Regions from separate parts of the Homo sapiens genome. Here all the other regions are linked to region 1. Evidence: promoter capture Hi-C in human tissues and cell types (Jung and others, 2019). All regions are on one chromosome and are shown on one strand. Each heading gives the region's core, a stretch centred on a gene start or on the middle of the fragment in contact. The rest is flanking DNA. Distances are from core to core; before and after follow the strand shown. Region 1 holds the start of RBX1 (ring-box 1). Region 2 holds the start of DESI1 (desumoylating isopeptidase 1). Region 3 overlaps MRTFA (myocardin related transcription factor A). Region 4 holds the start of PMM1 (phosphomannomutase 1). Region 5 has its middle 11 kb from the start of TNRC6B-DT.

What was found. The method cuts DNA at HindIII sites, captures the fragments that hold promoters and counts their contacts. A contact is called where the count stands out against the background at its distance.
Region 2: the fragment with the promoter of DESI1 here is called in contact with the fragment with the promoter of RBX1 in region 1 in 2 of the 25 tissues and cell types used here (dorsolateral prefrontal cortex and spleen).
Region 3: a fragment that was not itself captured here is called in contact with the fragment with the promoter of RBX1 in region 1 in 2 of the 25 tissues and cell types used here (dorsolateral prefrontal cortex and spleen).
Region 4: the fragment with the promoter of PMM1 here is called in contact with the fragment with the promoter of RBX1 in region 1 in 3 of the 25 tissues and cell types used here (adrenal gland, dorsolateral prefrontal cortex and spleen).
Region 5: a contact is called between a fragment that was not itself captured here and the fragment with the promoter of RBX1 in region 1, in 1 of the 25 tissues and cell types used here (lymphoblastoid cells).

What each region holds. Positions count from the first base shown.
Region 1 is chr22:40,949,971-40,953,498 of GRCh38, forward strand. RBX1 (ring-box 1) reads left to right here and starts at 1,408. Exons shown (of 5, transcript NM_014248.4): 1 at 1,408-1,506. The coding sequence starts at 1,429. RefSeq lists enhancers at 370-960, 1,475-1,684, 2,140-2,728 and a silencer at 845-1,424. The HindIII fragment of the contact is 18,244 bases long and covers 1-3,528 here.
Region 2 is chr22:41,619,059-41,622,720 of GRCh38, forward strand. It overlaps DESI1 (desumoylating isopeptidase 1), which reads right to left and starts at 1,985. Exons shown (of 6, transcript NM_015704.3): 1 at 1,694-1,985. The coding sequence starts at 1,781. It overlaps XRCC6 (X-ray repair cross complementing 6), which reads left to right and starts at 2,237. Exons shown (of 13, transcript NM_001469.5): 1 at 2,237-2,287; 2 at 2,932-3,028. The coding sequence starts at 2,947. RefSeq lists enhancers at 1-60, 71-130, 1,403-2,004 and a silencer at 1,736-2,005. The HindIII fragment of the contact is 13,467 bases long and covers 1-3,662 here.
Region 3 is chr22:40,433,143-40,436,746 of GRCh38, forward strand. It overlaps MRTFA (myocardin related transcription factor A), which reads right to left. Exons shown (of 15, transcript NM_020831.6): 5 at 2,357-2,412. Among named protein-coding and RNA genes, the nearest start is that of SGSM3, 64 kb to the left of the region's middle. RefSeq lists enhancers at 3,149-3,208, 3,469-3,598. The HindIII fragment of the contact is 3,423 bases long and covers 596-3,604 here.
Region 4 is chr22:41,587,808-41,591,424 of GRCh38, forward strand. PMM1 (phosphomannomutase 1) reads right to left here and starts at 2,033. Exons shown (of 8, transcript NM_002676.3): 1 at 1,912-2,033. The coding sequence starts at 1,998. RefSeq lists an enhancer at 1,158-1,837 and a silencer at 2,232-2,381. The HindIII fragment of the contact is 27,075 bases long and covers 1-3,617 here.
Region 5 is chr22:40,054,219-40,057,777 of GRCh38, forward strand. It overlaps a transcript of TNRC6B not described here. Among named protein-coding and RNA genes, the nearest start is that of TNRC6B-DT, 11 kb to the left of the region's middle. The HindIII fragment of the contact is 4,520 bases long and covers 1-3,559 here.

The DNA.
Region 1 (3,528 bases), core at 158-2,657:
GTACGACATCTAAGAGTGCTCTGGCAGAGTCACACCTCTGCAAGGTTAGAGATGTCAAAGGGAGTCCTGGTCTAGCCAGAAATGGGAGAGTGACAAAGTACAGGTGCTTGGGTCGGGTGGGATGGCTCACTCCTGTGATCCCAGCACTTTGGGAGGCCGAAGTGGGAGGATCACTTGGGCCCAGGAGTTCGAGACCAGCCTAGGCAACATAGTGAGACCTTGTCTCTATTTTTTAAAAAAATTAAAAAAGAAAAAAAAAAAAAGCGGCTCTAGCACTTTGGGAGGCCGAGGCAGGCGGATCACCTGAGGTCAGGAGTTCGGGACCAGCCTGGCTAACGTGGTGAAACCCCGTTTCTACTAAAAATACAAAAAATTAGCCGGGCGTGGTGGCGGGCGCCTGTAATCTCAGCTACTCGGGAGGCTGAGGCAGGAGAATCGCTTGAATCCTGGAGGCGGAGGTTGCAGTGGGCCGAAATCGCGCCATTACACTCCAGCCTGGGCAACAAGAGTTAAAAAAGAATGCCTCACAAAAATTCAAGAAATACAGCGACTGCAGATGGGTCGGTTTCACTACAGCACAAGCAGCGGAAAAAGGACACAGATCGGGGAGAAATCACCCTACAAAGATGACAACTGAGGAATGCGGAGTGGGGACTGACACACGTTACGGTGAAACCGTGCACCACGACCAAAGGCGGTCCTAGGACTGCGACTATGTGGGCGCAGAGGCCACCCCCCAGGCTTGGCGGGCGAGTAAAGGCAGGGCTGGGGGCCTGCTCAGTGTGGCCTTAGGGAGGAACTTCGGGGGTCTCCTCTCTCCCCATCGAATCCCTGAGCAGTTCCCGAACAGAAATCGGAGACCAGACGGTGCCTGGGCCCCAGCCCTCCCACGGGGACTGCACCTTGGGCCTGGCTCGGAAGCGGGTCAGAGTCTGCGAAAGACCAGCGAGGACTCTTGGGTTTCGGGGCAGGCCGCGGGCGCCCACCCACGCCAGCACCGGGAGCCGCGCGGCGACTCGGCGAGCCCGGCAGGCAGGACAGGACTGCGGCGCAGGTCTGGCTCAGGCGGAGGAAGCAGCCGCCGCCCCAGCTGACGGAGTGCGGCCGGGGGCTTCCCAGAGGAGGCGGCGACGTCGAGCCCTTTCGAACGTTTCCACCCGGCTAGCTCACGTAGCCTCGGCCCCGCCCGGCCCCGCCCGGCCCCGCCCCACCCACTCCGGCCACCGCCCCCTCCCCGGCCTACAGTTCGCGGGTGGGGCGACCTGCGACAGCCCCTTTAAGAGGCGTGGTCACGTGCTCCGCCCCCACCTCCGCCTCGCGCGCCAGTAAGGGGTGGGGTGCGGGAGGAGGTGCCGGGGAGGTGGGGGGAGCGAAGTGTGCGCTGCTGCGCAGGCGCGGTGGTCGGACGACAGACCGTGTGTTTCCAAAATGGCGGCAGCGATGGATGTGGATACCCCGAGCGGCACCAACAGCGGCGCGGGCAAGAAGCGCTTTGAAGTGAAAAAGGTTGGGTCTCGCCAGCGCCTTCCTCAGGGAAGCTAGAGAGGCGCGGATCTGGCTGGCAGGCCCGAGGATGGTCGAGGCGCGGAGTAAAGGGTTTCATTTCAGGGCGTTCCTGGGACCGGGTACCACGAAAGGAAGCCGGGGGGCGGGTCTTAGAGTTGATCGGCGTGACGGCGGCCCACTGTTGGGGGAAGTGTTGGTTTCGCTGTGAGGCTAAGGGGCCAATCACAGAGCTGCTTATTGAGATACGCGGGGTTGCGACTTGGCGGCGGGAGCCAAGCGCTTGAGCTGTCACTGGAGTGGTTGAGAGGTGGGGGAAGGACAGGGTAGGGTGGGGTGGGGTGGGTGGAATGGGGAGTCGAAGCGAATGCGGCGGTGGAGGATGGGGCAGTGCGGCGAGAGCCTGGAACCTGAGGTCCTACCGCATTAGAGGCCTCTGAGGACCCCCCTTGGTGATCTTGCTCCGCCCCTTTTTGAAGCTTGGGGTCCTCTCACTTGGAGGGGTCCTCTCACTTGGAGGGATCCTCGCTGAACCGAGGCCTCACACTGCCTGGTTAGAGTCTGGAGTGTAATGCTTGGCTCTTCTGAGACGTCTGTTGGCTTTTCACACAACCACCCCACTCTTGGGTTCTCTGTCACGTCCAGAATCTCCCCCTTCCAAAATAATAATAAAAAGCATGGTGGAACTTGTTAAGAAAATCCGAGCCCAAATCCTGTGGCAGTTAGGGAGGGTTGAGTACTAGTCGCGAACGACTTGGTAAGCGTGGGAAAGCAAAAATGGAACGTGTCTTTTTGCATGAAATGCCTTTTAGTGGTTTGCCACAGTTTGGGAGAACAGTATCGATTCTCACCTAACATGAAAGCTGTTCAAAATGGAGATTCTAAAATAGGGAAGATATTCCTAGAACATCTGGCTAAACACTGACAATATCCCCCGTCCTAGTGCTTTTTGGTGTCTCATTGTGGCCACTGCTGCTCAGTTACAGCCAGCAGCCATATTGAAAAATAATAGAAGTAGGGGCTTTTCCTCCACCTTGAAGCTGTGATGTGAAAAGTGGTAAAGAAGTTACTAGGCACTGAGAATGGGGTTTGAAAGCGAAGAAGGTTTGGGAGTATTTGTAATTGAGGAAGCCAGAGTTGAATGAATGAAATTCTGTTAAACTCTTACTGGAATTATTATCTTAATAGAAGAGTCTAAACATATAAAAGTTGAGAACATCAGTTTATTTTATGGTAAGAATCAAAATTCTAGTGAATTGTAGAATTTGTTATGAAGTAATCTAAGATTTAAGTGATGACCTTGTTCTGTGTACTGACACGGGTATTTAATTATCCAGCTTATCCCATGATTACCCATTTTATGATCCAGTCATTATCTTAGTTCATTCTGTTCTCTAGCTTTCACTTCATTGCTCATGCTTCCAGAGCTGTGTAGAGCAGATACTTATTCAGATTTTGAGCTCTTCTGCAACTGCCACCAAAACCTGCACAGAAATTCAAGTTTGTGCCCTTTTTTTTTTTTTTTTTTTTTTTTTGAGATGGAGTCTCACTCTGTCGCCCAGGCTGGAGTGCAGTGGCACGATCTTGGCTCACTGCAACCTCCGTCCCCCAGATTCAAGCGATTCTCCTGCCTCAGCTTCCCAAACAGCTGGTATTATAGACACCCGCCACCAGGCCTGGCTAATTTTTGTATTTTTAGTAAAGATAGGATTTTGCCATGTTGGCCAGGCTGGTCTTGAACTCCTGACCTCAGTGATCGGCCCGCCTCGGCCTCCCAAAATGCTAGGACTATAGGCGTGAGCCACTGCACCCGGCCAGACTAAATTATTTTAAACTATAGGAAACAAATTAAAAGATGACATTAATTTCTGTGTTCATATACTCAGCCTTTTGGAGAATAGAACATACGTGTAGTCTACTGTTGTCTTTGGTATAATAAGATTAACGTAATATCCAAAAACTTTTGTTTGGTGGTTCCCTGTGGCCAAAGAGATGATAACTGCAGCTGCAGCCTGAGGTCCTAAA
Region 2 (3,662 bases), core at 735-3,234, 670 kb after region 1:
GTCTCAAAAAAAAAAACCAACAAAAAAAAAACACTTGACTGATGTAATCTATTAATGAGTAACAGCTTCCTCAGTGACTTTGTAAGTTTTGCTTTCAGATGTGCCTCAATCATTTTAACAACTGGTTATCTAGGCCCAAATCCCTGTCAAATAATGGGTTGGCTACATAAGAATTAGCTGATAAGCTCATTAAAAATACAGATTTTTGGACCAAAACTCCAGGAGATTCTGATTTAGTATTTGTGAAGCCTTAGAATCCATATAATTAAAATTTTCTCATTTTAAATAGATATTATGTGTATGTAATACACAGGTCCAGAGGTAAGAAACAGTTTACAGCAAAGTTTCTCTTCTACCCCTGTTCCCCTGGCATCAAGTTCCCCTTTCCATAAGCTACTGCTGTTATCAATTTCTTGTGTATCCTTACGGATAATTATTTGCCTAAGCAAGCACATATATATCCTTTGATTTGCATATTTAAAGAGCTATTCTAACCTTGTTTTTTCTAATCTCATTTACAATATATGTTGGAAATGAGGGTATCTGCATTTTTAACAAGCACCCTAGATGATTTTGATGTGAAGCCAAATATAGAAACAACTCATGGACCCACGGTTGTGAGATTAAGTTCAATTCACTACGACATATTAGAAACTCAAGGACATTGAAGGATGCCCTCAAAAGTAGCCTCCCTTACTTGATCTCTGCCCCCTCGTCTCACAGAGATGAACTAAATCATTCGCCAGTGTCTCCACAGAAGCCAGGAAAAACTAGCCATTCAAATGGATGCTGTCAAAGCTTCAATTTTCAATAATTGGAATTCTTTCCTGCTCATTGTTACCCGAAATTACAAACCTGACAATTCCTGTGTTACACAAGACATTCCTGTATTTAAGTTGAAATAAGGTGTGATCGTCACTGAATGAGGGCTGGTTTTTCTCCTGCCAGTTAAGTAGTTTAATGGAGCACAACCGAAATACTTTCTTTACTAATCCTTATTCACACAGCCTCATCCAAACTTCCCCCAAAACTGCTTTCTTGCCATTTGAGCAAAAGCAATTAACTTAGAAACTGTGGGGAGAAGACTGCTTGGTGAATTCTGGAGTTCGGGGCTCCTCTTATCCTGACTTGACCTACCTGGGGGCGATGGCTGGGTCCCTAGGCAGCTCTATCTCCCCCATCCCACCTATCCCTGGGACTGCAAAGGGAGCTTCCTTTTGGCACTGAGACAAGGTTCTCCGAGAGCCACCCGACCTCCGCAGTGTCTCTGTCACCACGAGGGGCACCGCGCGGCAGGCATCCTCACCTTTCCTACACCGCGCCAAGGAGGCAGGAGTGCACTGGGCTACCCGAGCGAGGCAGAGAACCCGCCGGGATCCAGCGCTGGTTTACCCCACACCCTCGTCGAAGGGGCTCTCGAGGGCTCGGTTTCTGCCCAAGCCCCCTGCAAGGTGGAGGCATGACTCCTCCATCCCTTCCCCTTGAATTCAAACGTGAGGATGGTATCTGCGAGGCTAAAGCGGGGCTCAGATGGCCCAAACTTCAGACCACTCTCTTCTCCACTCGGCTTTTCTTCCATCCTCCTGGCCATGTGTCTCCCCGTGAGTCGTGGCCCAAGTCTCCCCACCTCGGCCAGCCGCCACCCTCTGGCCTGGCTCCCGCCCTCCTGCCCACCTGGCCCCTTCCCCCTCACCCAGCATGATGGGGCTGAGCCGCCGGGCCAGGCCTTTGGACAGGTCGTACACGTAGAGCTTCACCGGATAGAGATTCGGCGGCTCCATTGGGACCCGTGGCGACGGCGGCCACGACGGCCCTCGGGCACCCGGCAGCGGCTTGGACCTTCCCGTACCCGACGGGAGTGCGAAGCGGAGGGAGAGGGGGGGACCGAGCCCGGGCCCGGGCTGAGGGGTGGGGGAGAGGCCGCCCTGCGCTGCTCGCGCCCCCACACCCGCTACCGGCAACGACTACTGTGAGGTGACAGAGAGGGGACAGGGAGGGCCCACACGGAAGAGGGGGCGGGGGCAGGGATGCACTTTTGCGCATGTGCTTACAGTCCTGACGTAGGAAGGGGCGGGGCTTTGCCGAAGGGGGCGGGGCTCTCGCTGATGGGTTGGCTTTCGTCAGGGACATAGGTAGAAGCTGGTTGGGGAGTGTGCGTGCCAGCCTGACGCGATATAGTGCGCACATGCGTGATGACGTAGAGGGCGTTGATTGGGACCGAGTACAGGGCCCGCGCATGCGTGGATTGTCGTCTTCTGTCCAAGTTGGTCGCTTCCCTGCGCCAAAGGTAAGCGGGCCGTTATCCATTTGTGTTGTTCGCCAGCTAGGCCTGGCCTCGTCCCGCTTCGCTCGGTCGGTCTCGCGCGCCCCCATAGCCTTGCTAGAGGGTTAGCGTTAGCCTTAAGTGTGCGAATCCGAGGAGCAGCGACAGACTCGAGACCACGCTCCTTCCTCGGGAAGGAGGCGGCACCTCGCGTTTGAGGCCCGCCTGCGTTTGAGGCCCGCCTGCGCTTGCGGCCCGCCTGCGCTTGAGGCCTGTCTGCGTTTGAGATCTCATTGGGCGTGATTGAGGAATTTGGGGAGGTTTTTGGGCGGTATTGAGGACGAGGGGGTCCGTTAGTCAGCATAGAATCCTGGAGCGGGAATCCCTCACCGTCTAAATGGCGTCGGGGGCGGGACCTCCGGGATCTGGCTTCCGCGGGCCGCCGCCGGCCCTGAAACGTGAGGGATAGCTGAGATGAGGCAGCTACTGGGATGGCCCCCATGCGCATTTACATGCAGTCCGACTGCCGAGCTTTCGAGGCAGCAGGATTTACCGTCCACATTCCTCACTACTAACCAAGCTTTTAGAACAGATCTCACAAGAACCTAGAGGTCGGTATTTTTTCGATTTAAATTTGCCTGTTACTGACGTTAACGTCTTTCGCCTAGTGAGCAGTAGCCAACATGTCAGGGTGGGAGTCATATTACAAAACCGAGGGCGATGAAGAAGCAGAGGAAGAACAAGAAGAGAACCTTGAAGCAAGTGGTAAGTGACTTCAGCATGTAGTGCCATTCGGTGTGTGGAAGAAAGACCTTCCCTGCCTATCTCTGCTGGATGGACTTTGCTGTTTGATGGCCTGCCCTTCTCCTCCCAGATAATTCTGAAATTCTTTTCTTCCTTTGAACTTCGCAGAGCTACCCTAGGCTCTTATATGCAGATCTTACTCTAGTGTGCCCTAAGTTTTTTTTGGACACTGGTAGTTTGACATCTTTTGGTCCCTGATAAATGGCCATGACCATAGGTATTTTTTGTCATCTTAAGTGGTTCAGGTGAGACCCTTCTCATCCAGGAAAGTAGTGTTACCATTCCAGGACCTCAGTGTAAAAATGCCCCCACCCTGCAATAACTACACCAACCAAAGAATAAACGCAAGCAACACAGTTACAGGAAAGTGATTGATTCCCTCACTATAGCCTCCACGTTTGGGAGTGTATGTGCAGGCAACACAGTAACACATAAAACAAAGGAAGAGAAATAGGGGTACATGTAATCTTCATACTGGTTAATTTAACTCCTGAGCAGAAAAATTTTGAATATTTTTATTAAAAATGAGAAACGGCCAGGCGCGGTGTCTCAAGCCTGTAATCCCAGCACTTTGGGAGGCCGAGGCGGGCGGATC
Region 3 (3,604 bases), core at 1,057-3,556, 520 kb before region 1:
AACATATTAATGATGTCAAATGGCTGAAACCTGACTACCTAGAGGCTACTCTGGACTGGTTTAGAGGGTATAAGGTCTCTGATGGAAAACCAGAGAACTTTCAGGGCCAAATTTAAAGATACGGATTTTGCAACTGATATCATTAAAGGCATTCATGACCACTGAAGCACATTTGTGTCGAAGAAAACTGAGGGAACAAAATCAGTTTGACAAGGTACAGTGGTAGATGCCTACACATCCCAGCTATTCAGGAGGTCAAAGGCAGAAGGATTGCTTAAGCCCAAGAGTTGGGATTCAGCCTGGGCAACATAGCAAAATCCCACCTCTAAAATTACAAAAAAAGGAAAACAAAGCAATCAGTTGTGTAAATACAACAGCATCTCAGAGCCCCTCAAGTGTGATCCTGACATAGCTGAAGCCATTGTGGATGCTTTCCCACCACCATGTATAGCTGCCTTATGTAGCACGCACAGATGTGAGCAGCTGGTTCCAACACCAGAAAAAGAAATGAAACTTCTCTTGAATACGAGCTGATATTGCTGTGTCTTATTCATCTGGAAGTATGAGATGCAAAAGTAGCAGCTTTTCAAAGCTTTAAGCTTTTAGAATTAAGTAAAGCAAATTCTGCTATAACCAATCCAATATATTCATGTTTCATATCTCAACTAAGATAATTTTTAGTACATGTGTAAATATGGAAGTAGTTATTGTAATGTGGAAGTCATTTGTGAATAGATGTGCATGGTAAGCAAATTGAACGTTATGGTTACCATGTGTTAGGAAATAAAATCATTTTGCTCAAAAAAAATCTAGAATCCACAAAGGTTTGACTCCCAGCTTTGCCACTTATTGGCTGGACAAGTGAGTTAACTTCTCTTAGCTGCATCTATAAAATGAGGATAATACCACCTAATTCATAAGAGTTGATGTGAGGATAAAAAAGAAACAGATACAACCTCTTACATAAAGGTGCTCAATAAAACAGTCTCTTCTAATCAGCTCTGCTGGTCCCTGCCTATTTGAGAAGCAGTCAAGTAAATGGTGCCCAGTCTTCTGACCGAATAGGCGCACAGGCAACGCCATCCTTTCCCCCAACACTGTACTCTCCAGTGCTCTCAGCAAACTAAACCACTGCTGCTTGTTACTCCTTTGGTTCCCAGGACCCATGACCTCATTCTTTCCACTTACTCTAAGAATTAATCATGATTTTCTGGGGAGAGGGGAATGAAAGAAAGTTTAAAAAAAAAAAAAAAAAGTCTTGGAGGTAAATATTTCTGAGACTCTAAAATAGCTGTGAGGCTGGGTGTGGTGGCTCATGCCTGTAATCCCAGGACTTTGGAAGGGCAAGGCAGGCAGATCACTTGAGGCCAAGAGTTTGAGACCAGGCTGGCCAACATGGTGAAACCCCATCTCTACTAAAAATACAAAAATTACCCAGGCGTGGTGGCGGGAGCCTGTAGGTCCAGTTACTTGGGAGGCTGAGGCAGGAGAATCGCTTGAATCTGGTAGGCGGAGGCTGCGGTGAACTGAGATCACGCCACTGCACTCCAGCCTGGGTGACAGAGTGAGACTCCGTCTCAAAAAATAAAGTAAAATAAAATAGCCGTGGGTCTTAAGGAGATGCAGCCCATGATCTGTCTAGGGGGATTATCTTCCCATGATTTTATGTGAAAGGAAAAAGTAAAGGGAGTGTGAGGGGGAAGCAAGTTCTGGTGACTTCCCCATCTCTACCCACACTGGGCAGCAGAATATTCCTCAGGGGCCCCTGGGGAACCGAAACAGAGTTGGGATGGGGACGCAAGTAAGGTGCTGTGGCAGAAAACTTGGGCTTGGAGTGTGGGCCAGTTTCTGCTTTCCACAAGAGTCAAGTGGATACCACCTACTCTGGGCAGATGGAGACCAAGAAGGTTTCCTGCCCCTTGGAATGCCCGTCCTGTGAGGTGTGGCCAGTGTAACCCCGGACTTGGGAAGCTTTTCCATTGGCTAATGTTTGTGTCCCAACATCTACAAAACGTTAAGTGGAATTAAAGATGGGGAAATACCAGTGGTCTCCAAAGCACTCCAAAATTCAGGCAAGGAGGATCGGGTGATCATTCCATATCCTTAAATGTACAAAAAGAGAAACCTCATTCCAATCATGTTCCATATAATCACCATGGGAGGTAAATGAGAGAAGGGATGAAGTAGGAGAAGCAGAGCTTTCCATTTAAAACCACAAGGCCAGGGCTGGCCCTAGAGTCTAGCAGGCTCTGGCCTCAGAGTTCTATGGAAAGCTCTAAATGGAAATATAACCAGCAATGCAATGAGCTCTGAAAATGCTCTTTGGGAGTTCTGAGGGGGAAAAAAGGTACCTTACCCTGGCCCGCTCCAAGCTCCTTCTCTGCTCATGAAATGCGGCTGGACTTTTCAAAGCTGTTGAGAGAAGAACCGTAAAGATTACCTTCAAGCGAAGCATCATGTCTAGTGCTACGATATTCAGTGGAGAAGGCATCTTAAATTCATGTTACTGGCTGGGCGTGGTGGCTCACGCCTGTAATCCCAACACTTTGGGAGGCTGAGGCAGGCAGATCACGAGGTCAGGAGATCGAGACCATCCTGGCTAACATGGTGAAACCCTGTCTCTACTAAAAATACAAAAAATTAGCCAGGCGTGGTGGTGGTGGGCGCCTGAAGTCCCAGCTACAAGGGAGGCTGAGGCAGGAGAATGGCGTGAACCTGGGAGGCAGAGCTTGCAGTAAGCCGAGATTGCGCCACTGCACTCTAGCCTGGGCAACAGAGCGAGAAACCGTCCCCCAAAAAAAAAAAAAAAAAATCACATTACTGTTAGTAGTACTATAAATATCAGTTGAAGTGAAGGCAATGACACCTGAGTAAGCATGTATCTTTATGGTTTAGCTACCCCATTCAAACAGTTTTGGTAGAAACCAAAATATGACTCCTAATGGGAACTGTCACTGCCTAAGCTTGGGCTATATAAAGTGCACCCATGGAATGTAACTTTAACAAACACCCTGGCCCATGACTGGACCGTCAGCCGCAAATCCCCCTTCAGCTAGGACTCCAAGAACGCCTGCTAGGCCTCACATTATTCTCAGGACACCTGCACACAGGAAGGGGCACAGATGCATGCCAAATTAACCTTACTTCCTCAACCTCACGAGGAATCATAAAGTGGCCAAACTGTTTCAATGGGACAGTTAAAACCAAAAAGATATATGTCCACTCGGCACTATTTCCTTCTTCACTGCACCTGTTATTTATAGTGCTGCTAAAATTAACTTGAATTTCATCTCTAAGGACTAAAAGAACCCCATGGCAATTGTATGTGAAGGAACACACACAACCGACAGCTGAGACGAAGGGCTCAGCTCTATTCTGGGGATACCACACAAAGACCACAAGTCTCGACTTCTGCAAACAACACTCAGGTGGCAAGACCAAACCAAGAGCCTCCAGAAAGGCTGCACCATGAATGGAAGGTCTGACTCCTTTTGTCAAAAACTTGGCTGTAAGGACAAATAGCAACTTAAGACACTCTGAGGATGAGAGGGAAAGGCCTGACTCACTTCAAGTAGGGAACAGAGGCAATAAGAGAGAAATTTAT
Region 4 (3,617 bases), core at 783-3,282, 640 kb after region 1:
AAGTGCGGTCAGAGTGGACTTTACCCTTCTCTGTTACGTTTCCATTCTTTACCAGGAGAGTGTGCTCATGAAAATGTGTACGATTAAAAATTAACTTTCAAAAGGCACTAAGCACAGAGGCTGGCCCGTAGACAAATTAATAGGCTGTTCTTATTCAGGTTGTTATGTTTGTGGAGCAAAAGGTCAGAGGGAGGAGTCAGAACTGTGCCTAGGCCCTGCCACTTTTGTTCCAGTTCTTTTATTCATTTATTTGTTTGTTTGAGACGGAGTTTCACTCTTGTTGCCCAGGCTGGAGTGCAATGGCACAATCTTGGCTCACTGCAACCTCCACCTCCTGGGTTCAATCGATTCTCCTGCCTCTGCCTCCCCAGTAGCTGGGACTACAGGCACACGACACCACGCCCATCTACTTTTTGTTTTGTTTTGTTTTGAGACTGAGTCTCCCTCTGTCGCCCAGGCTGTAGTGCAATGGCACATTCTCGGCTCACTGCAACTTCTGCCTCTCGGGTTCAAGTGATTCTCCTGCCTCAGCCTCCCGACTAGCTAGGATTACAGGTGCATGCCACCACGCCTGGCTAATTTTTTGTATTTTTAGTAGAGATAGGGTTTCACGATATTGGTCAGGCTGGTCTTAAACTCCTGACATCGTGATCTGTCTGCCTCGGCCTCCCAAAGTGCTGGGATTACAGGCGTGAGCCACTGAACCCAGCCTAATTTTTGTATTTTTAGTAGAGACGGGGTTTCACCATGTTAGCCAGACTGATCTAGAATTCCTGACCTCAGGTGATCTGCCCACCATGGCCTCCCAAAGTGCTGGGATTACAGGCGTGACCCACAAGCAAATGGCCCACCTTTGCTCCAGTCCTGCTATCTTCCTCCCGGATCCACCCCTGCAGGAAGGCCTCCAGGGCCCAAGCCAGGGCAACTTCACCACAGAGGATGGGGAGGGGCATTCGGGACCTAAGAGAGGAGGCTAAGACCTGGGTTCCCATCAGCCACTGCCCAGTAAAGCCCATCCCACTGCTCCCCCACGCTAGGAGACCTGTTGGTTGGTCCTTGAGGCCCCCAGACTGGAGGGTGGGTTACCCACAGGGAGGGCATGAATGAAGCCTGCTTACTGATGCATCCAGCTGGTGAGGGGGCTTTTGGGGACTCACTCACAATGAGACCCAATGGGAGAAAAACTGAGCAGAGGTAAGAGGCTCAACACAGCGAGAGTCTTTAGAAGAAAACTAGACTCTTACCCTCACTATTCCTCAGTGTCCTCACAGCAAACAGGCTAGGCCTGGAGCCTCTCACATCCGGGTGGGTAGAGCTCATAAACGAATTTGAAAAGAAGCCCTCTCTGCTCCACGACTGGGGGTGGAAGGTAAAGTGGGTGATGGGGCTTCAGAAACTAGACCCAGTCCCAGGCCTGCAAAGGTCGGGGTGGGAAGACTCCGAGACGCCCTGTCTCCCACCAGATGATGACTGACGCTTGGCTGTGTGCTTGTGTGCCTGGAACCCCGGTTCAGAAGCCAGCTCCGACCACTGGTGTGTCGTAGGGCTGAACTAGGGTGGGATCCCCAGCTCAGGAGGCGGGGGCGTCCGTGAGCCAGGCCTTAGCGGCGTGTGACAGCCTCCGGGGAGGGAGGGAGCTAGGCCCCTGCTCGCAGCCTCCTCCCTCCAGTACTGGATCCAACCCCAGCACTCCCAAGCAGAACACAGGCAAGGACGCTGCGGGGTCAGTGACGTGAGGGCCAGGTCCCCTCACTCCCGGTGGGTGGCCCCGGATGTCAGGGGGCCGGGTACCGCCGCATCCCACACTCGGTCCCCGGGTGTCCACGGTCACGCTGCTGCAGACCCCACACTCAGCCTCGGGGGTGTCCGCGTGACACTCCCGGTGGGAGCTTCCAATCTTCAGGGTCCTACCTGGCGAGCCGGCGTGAGGGTCCCGTCCACGTCAAACAGGCAGAGGACGCGCTCCTTCCTGCGGGCTGCCTGGGCGGTGACTGCCATGGCTGCAGGTCCGCGCGCGGGGCGGAGTCCCGAAGATGCAACGGCAGAAGCAGCTCAGGGATAAGTGCTGACGGGGCGGGGCATTAGGGGGCGGGGGCCAGTGGACTGCCTGATTGGCCAAATGAAGAAGGGGCGTGGTCTAGGCGGGCGGAAGCGGGGGCGGGGCCTGAGCTGATTCTCATTGCTCGTGGAGGAGGGGAGCGCGGCATAGGGCGGAGCGGAGCCCTCCAGGTTCGATTGGATTGCTCCAAACAAGGCGGAGGAGGGGCCTGAGCCTGGGACCCGCAGGAAGTGAGAGGGTGAACCCGGAAGACAGGGGCGGGGCCAGAATTGGCGGGTTGATAGTGATTGCAACAGGCCGATTAAGGGGCTGGGTCGGGCGGGGCCTCTACCATGCAGTGCAGTGTCTAGTGGGCCAGGCGGGACTAAGAGAGCCGAGGTCGCTCCCCATCCACTCTCACAAGGTTTGTGGCCATCTCTTTGCCTTACAAATTTTGAGCTGTAGGAAATCTCCTGAGCCGGGCGCGGTGGTTCACGCCTGTAATCCCAGCAGTTTGGGACGTCGAGGCGGGCGGATCACCGGAGGTCGGGAGTTCGAGACCAGCCTGACCAACATGGAGAAACCTCGTCTCTACTAAAAATACAAAATTAGCCAGGCGTGGTGGCGCATGCCTGTAATCTCAGCTACTCAGGAGGCTGAGGCAGGAGAATCGCTTGATTCCAAAGAAGCCAGAGGTTGCGGTGAGCCGAGATCGCGCCATTGCACTCCAGCCTCAAAAAAAAAAAAAAAAAAAAAAAAGGAAAGAAAAGAAAAGAAAAGAAATCTCCTGAAGGCCTTTGTTCAGGCTTTGGACTTTGCCAAATTGCCTTCCCCGAGCCTTATTCCTTCTGTCCACACATAAGACCCAGCTCTCAGGGTCTACCTGCTTGGAGACCTTCCCAGATTCTTCTTTTTTTTTTTTTTTTTTGAGACAGAGTCTCGCTCTGCCCAGGCTGGAGTGCAGTGGCGGGATCTCTGCCCACTGCAACCTCCACCTCCCAGGTTCAAGCGGTTCTCATGCCTCAGCCTCCCGAGTAGCTGGGACTGCAGGCGTGTGCCACCATGCCCACCTAATTTTTGTATTTTTACTTACTTTTATGTTTATTTTATTTTATTTTTGACACAGGGCGATTTATTTATTTATTTATTTATTTTTTGAGACTGGGTCTCACTCTGTTACTCAGGTTGGAGTGCAGTGGCATGATCTCGGCTCACTGCAACCTCCGCCTCCCAGGTTCAAGTGATTCTCCTGCCTCAGCCTCCTGAGTAGCTGAAACTACAGAAGTGCGCCACCACGCCCGGCTAATTTTTTTTTTTTTTCTGAGACGGAGTTTTGCTCTTGTTGCCCAGGCTGGAGTGCAATGGCACGATTTCAGCTCACCACAACCTCTGCCTCCCGAGTAGCTGGGATTATTTTGTACCCACTACCACGCTCGGCTAATTTTTTATTTTTAGTAGTAATTTTGTATTTTCACCATGTTAGCCAGGCTGGTCTCGAACTCCTGGCCTCAGGTGATCTGCCTGCCTCAGCCTCCCAAAGTGCTGGGAATACAGGCATGAGCCACCGTTCCCAGCCAAC
Region 5 (3,559 bases), core at 499-2,998, 900 kb before region 1:
AACAAAACTGTCAGTGAGGCCTAAAGACCCTGATAAGAACCTGAATTCTTGTTCTTGCCTTTTTCACTGACTGCCCAGTGAAGCTTCTGCCAGCGTCCCCTGCCTCTTTTCCTACTGTCTTCCCCCTTGCTGAGTGTACTCTCACCATACTGACCCTCTTCAAGTTCCGGAAATGTGTGTTCTTCACTACCCAAGGTCCCTTCCTTGAGCATACTATTCTCACAGCTGGAAGCCCGCAGGCCCAACCTTAGTTAATGCCTCTTCAATCCTGAGCTCAGTGTGTGTGTCTCCTCTTTAATGACTTCCTAATCACCCCGCCCCACATTAGAAGATATCAATTGTATAATTATTTAATTTGTATATTATATTTCCCCTTCTGGAAAATAGCTACATGAATAAAAATACTCTGTTTTATTCACATTTGTGTCACCAACATCTAGCACTGTGAGTTGCACATAGTAGGTCCTCAATAAATATTTTTTCAAATGAAGTTAAGAAAGAGAATTTAAAATAGAATTTCTAAAAAACCTCATTTTAGGCAAAGCTTGGTGGCTCATGCATGTAATGCCAGCACTTTGGGAGGCCAAGGCAGGCAGGTCACTTGAGTCCAGGAGTTCGAGACCAGCCTGGGTGACATGGTGAAACCCATCTCTACAAAAAAAAAAAAAATTAGCTGGTTGTAGTAGTGCGCGCCAGTAGTCCCAGCTACTCGGGAGGCTGATACAGGAAGGTTGCTTGAGCCCGGGAGGCAGAGGTTGCAGTGAGCTGAGATTGCACCATTAAGCTCCAGCCTGGGTGACAGAACAAGACTCCGTCTCCAAAAAAAGAAAAGAAATTATGCTTGGGCTTGACATGATGACGCTCTCACTAAACATTTGAATGCATAGACATGCTGAATGCTGTGCTAGGAGCCAGGACTACAGAGGTGGGGCGAAAGGAGATCTTTGTTCCCAAGGAATGCACAGCCAGGTGGGTGAGACAGATGTGGACACAGATGAGTGCCATTTAGTGTAATAAGTGCTGTAATAGACAGTACAAGAGGTGCTGCGGGGATGAAAAGGAAGGTCATCAACACGATGGGGAGGTTGAGAAAGCCTTCCCAGGGAAGGTGACACTCACACTAAGTTGTGGAGGAAAAGGGCATTTCCGGCAGAGAGAACAGCCTGTGTAGAGGCATGGGGGAGCGTTTTTAGTATGTGGAGAAGATGACCGGCACAGCGGTATGCTTTACAAGGCTGGCATTAGGGTACAGGGCTAATAGCTGACTTACAGTTGAACCATGATATGTCAGACTCAGCCTCTTACTCCACTGCAGTTTAGGACAGGAAATGACCTTAGAATAATGATCTGAATCTGTATGTTTGAATTCATAAAGGCATAGAGTACCATTCAGAGAAGATAATCATAAACCACAACGGCACTTGTCACTTCTAGTTAATATACTTGCTTCAGTGGTGTACCTATAACCATGCAAATGATGTTAGGTGGAATTAGAAAGTGGTGACTCATTTAAGCTTATCTGTAGGAGCAGAGAGTGTAAAGGAAGTGACTTCTAGATCACCTGAGGTGAGTGCTGATACCATCTCAAATGGATCAGACACTGAACCAGTGAAAGAGAGGAAATCAGAAAAGAGGACTACCCAGAAGGGCCTCTGGTATATGTTCTGGGAAAGACAGTTCCTACAGCTTGAAGGTCTTTACATATCTCCAAGTCTCCAAGTGGTTCACTGAGCTAACATTAATCTAATTTAATTCTCAACCAGATTTGAAAAAGGGAGATTAATTGGATAAAAATGTAGCCCATTTTCCTTCATTTACTCCTATTTGTTTTCAATGTCTCTTTCCTTTTCTGTCTCCTCCTATCCATTTTTCTCTCCCTGTTACTCTTAAGTAGTGTCTCCTTTCCCCATCCACCCCATCTCTAGCCATCTTCCATTCTATTTCCGCTAAGTTGCTTTCAGTTGCAGGATGTCCATACCTTGTTGGCTAAACTAATGTTTCTCAGCTTTGCATATTCAGAGCTTGATATTTTTCAAATGGGAAGAAGTGATTATGCTCTGGTAGTGCTGATTACACTCACAAGATGTTAATTGACTTACGGTAATGCCGATTTCTGCAAGTTCTGTGTATGTATTTGATCTACATAACAAAGGGCTAAGGAGCTAAGTGATGATAGGGAGAATGGTAGTAATGAATGCAGTTTAGTTTAAGATGTTTGGAAGAGAAAGGACAGAGAAAAATGGAAGCAGGACGAGGTTGAGAAGGCAACACCTTTAAGTAAGATAGAAAATCAGGCTGGGTGCAGTGGCTCATGCCTGTAATCCCAGCACTTTGGGAAGCCAGAGTAAGAGGATCACTTGAGGCCAGGAGTTCGAGACCAGCTTGAGCAACATAGTGAGACCCCCATCTCTACAAAAAATGTTTTAAACATCAACTGAGCATGATGGCACATGCCTGTAGTCCTAGCTACTCAAAAGGCTGAGGCAGGAGGATTGCATGAGCCCAGGAGTTGGAGGCTGCGGTGAGCTAGGATTGCATCACTACACTCCAGCCTGAGAGACAGAGTGACACCCTGTCTCAAAAAAAAAAAAAAAAAGAAAGAAAAATCTATAATCTATTAAAAGATATACAGGAAGCACCCAGCGGAGAAAGAAAAATGGAAGTTGCTTGAATAGAGATGGTAGCAGATTTGATGGGGCAAGGCCACCAGATTCCTCCCATGGGCACAGGTAGACTATATTCATTGGAAGTTCCTTGTAGTATCTCAACAGAGTAAGAAGTCGTCATGGGTTCTCATCTTGGATACCTTGAGCTCAAAATGAGTTTATGCTACTTTGTTTTGTCATGGCACCCACTAGAATGGTTTGCACATAGTAGGTGTAAACAGTCGAGATAAAGTCACAGGATTGAAAGATGATACTGATTATACCTTTAAACTTCTTACCAGGTAACACTATCTGTGGTTTATGACAAGGGAACATGTTTATTAATCCTCTTGTGAATAGTACAGTTACATTGAATTTTTTTCCTAAAGGTGTTGATTTATTAAATGTGTACATTGAAAATATGCCAGGTTTTTTTTTTTTTTTTTTGAGACAGAGTTTCGCTCTTGTTGCCCAGGCTGGAGTACAATGGCACCATCTCGGCTCGTCGCAACCTCCGCCTCCTGGGTTCAAGTGATTCTCCTGCCTCAGCCTCCCGAGTAGCTGGGATCACAGGCGTGTGCCACCACGCCCGGCTAATTTTGTATTTTTAGTAGAGACAGGATTTCTCCATGTTGGTCAGGCTGGTCTCAAACTCCTGACCTCAGGTGATCCGCAGCCTCCCAAAGTGCTGGGATTACAGGCGTGAGCCACCCTGCCTGGCCCAGAATTTTCATAATGGTGTTTTGGCATGTCTTTATTTAAAAAAATATATATACATATCTCGAGCCTCAAAAACTGGAAGTGGACCAGGCTTTCTAACCTGGAGACCCCCTGGTCAGCATATCAAGAGAAATGTCTTGGGTACTTGCTGGGTACAAGATTCTGATGTGGAGGAAGGCAATCCAAAGTAAAAG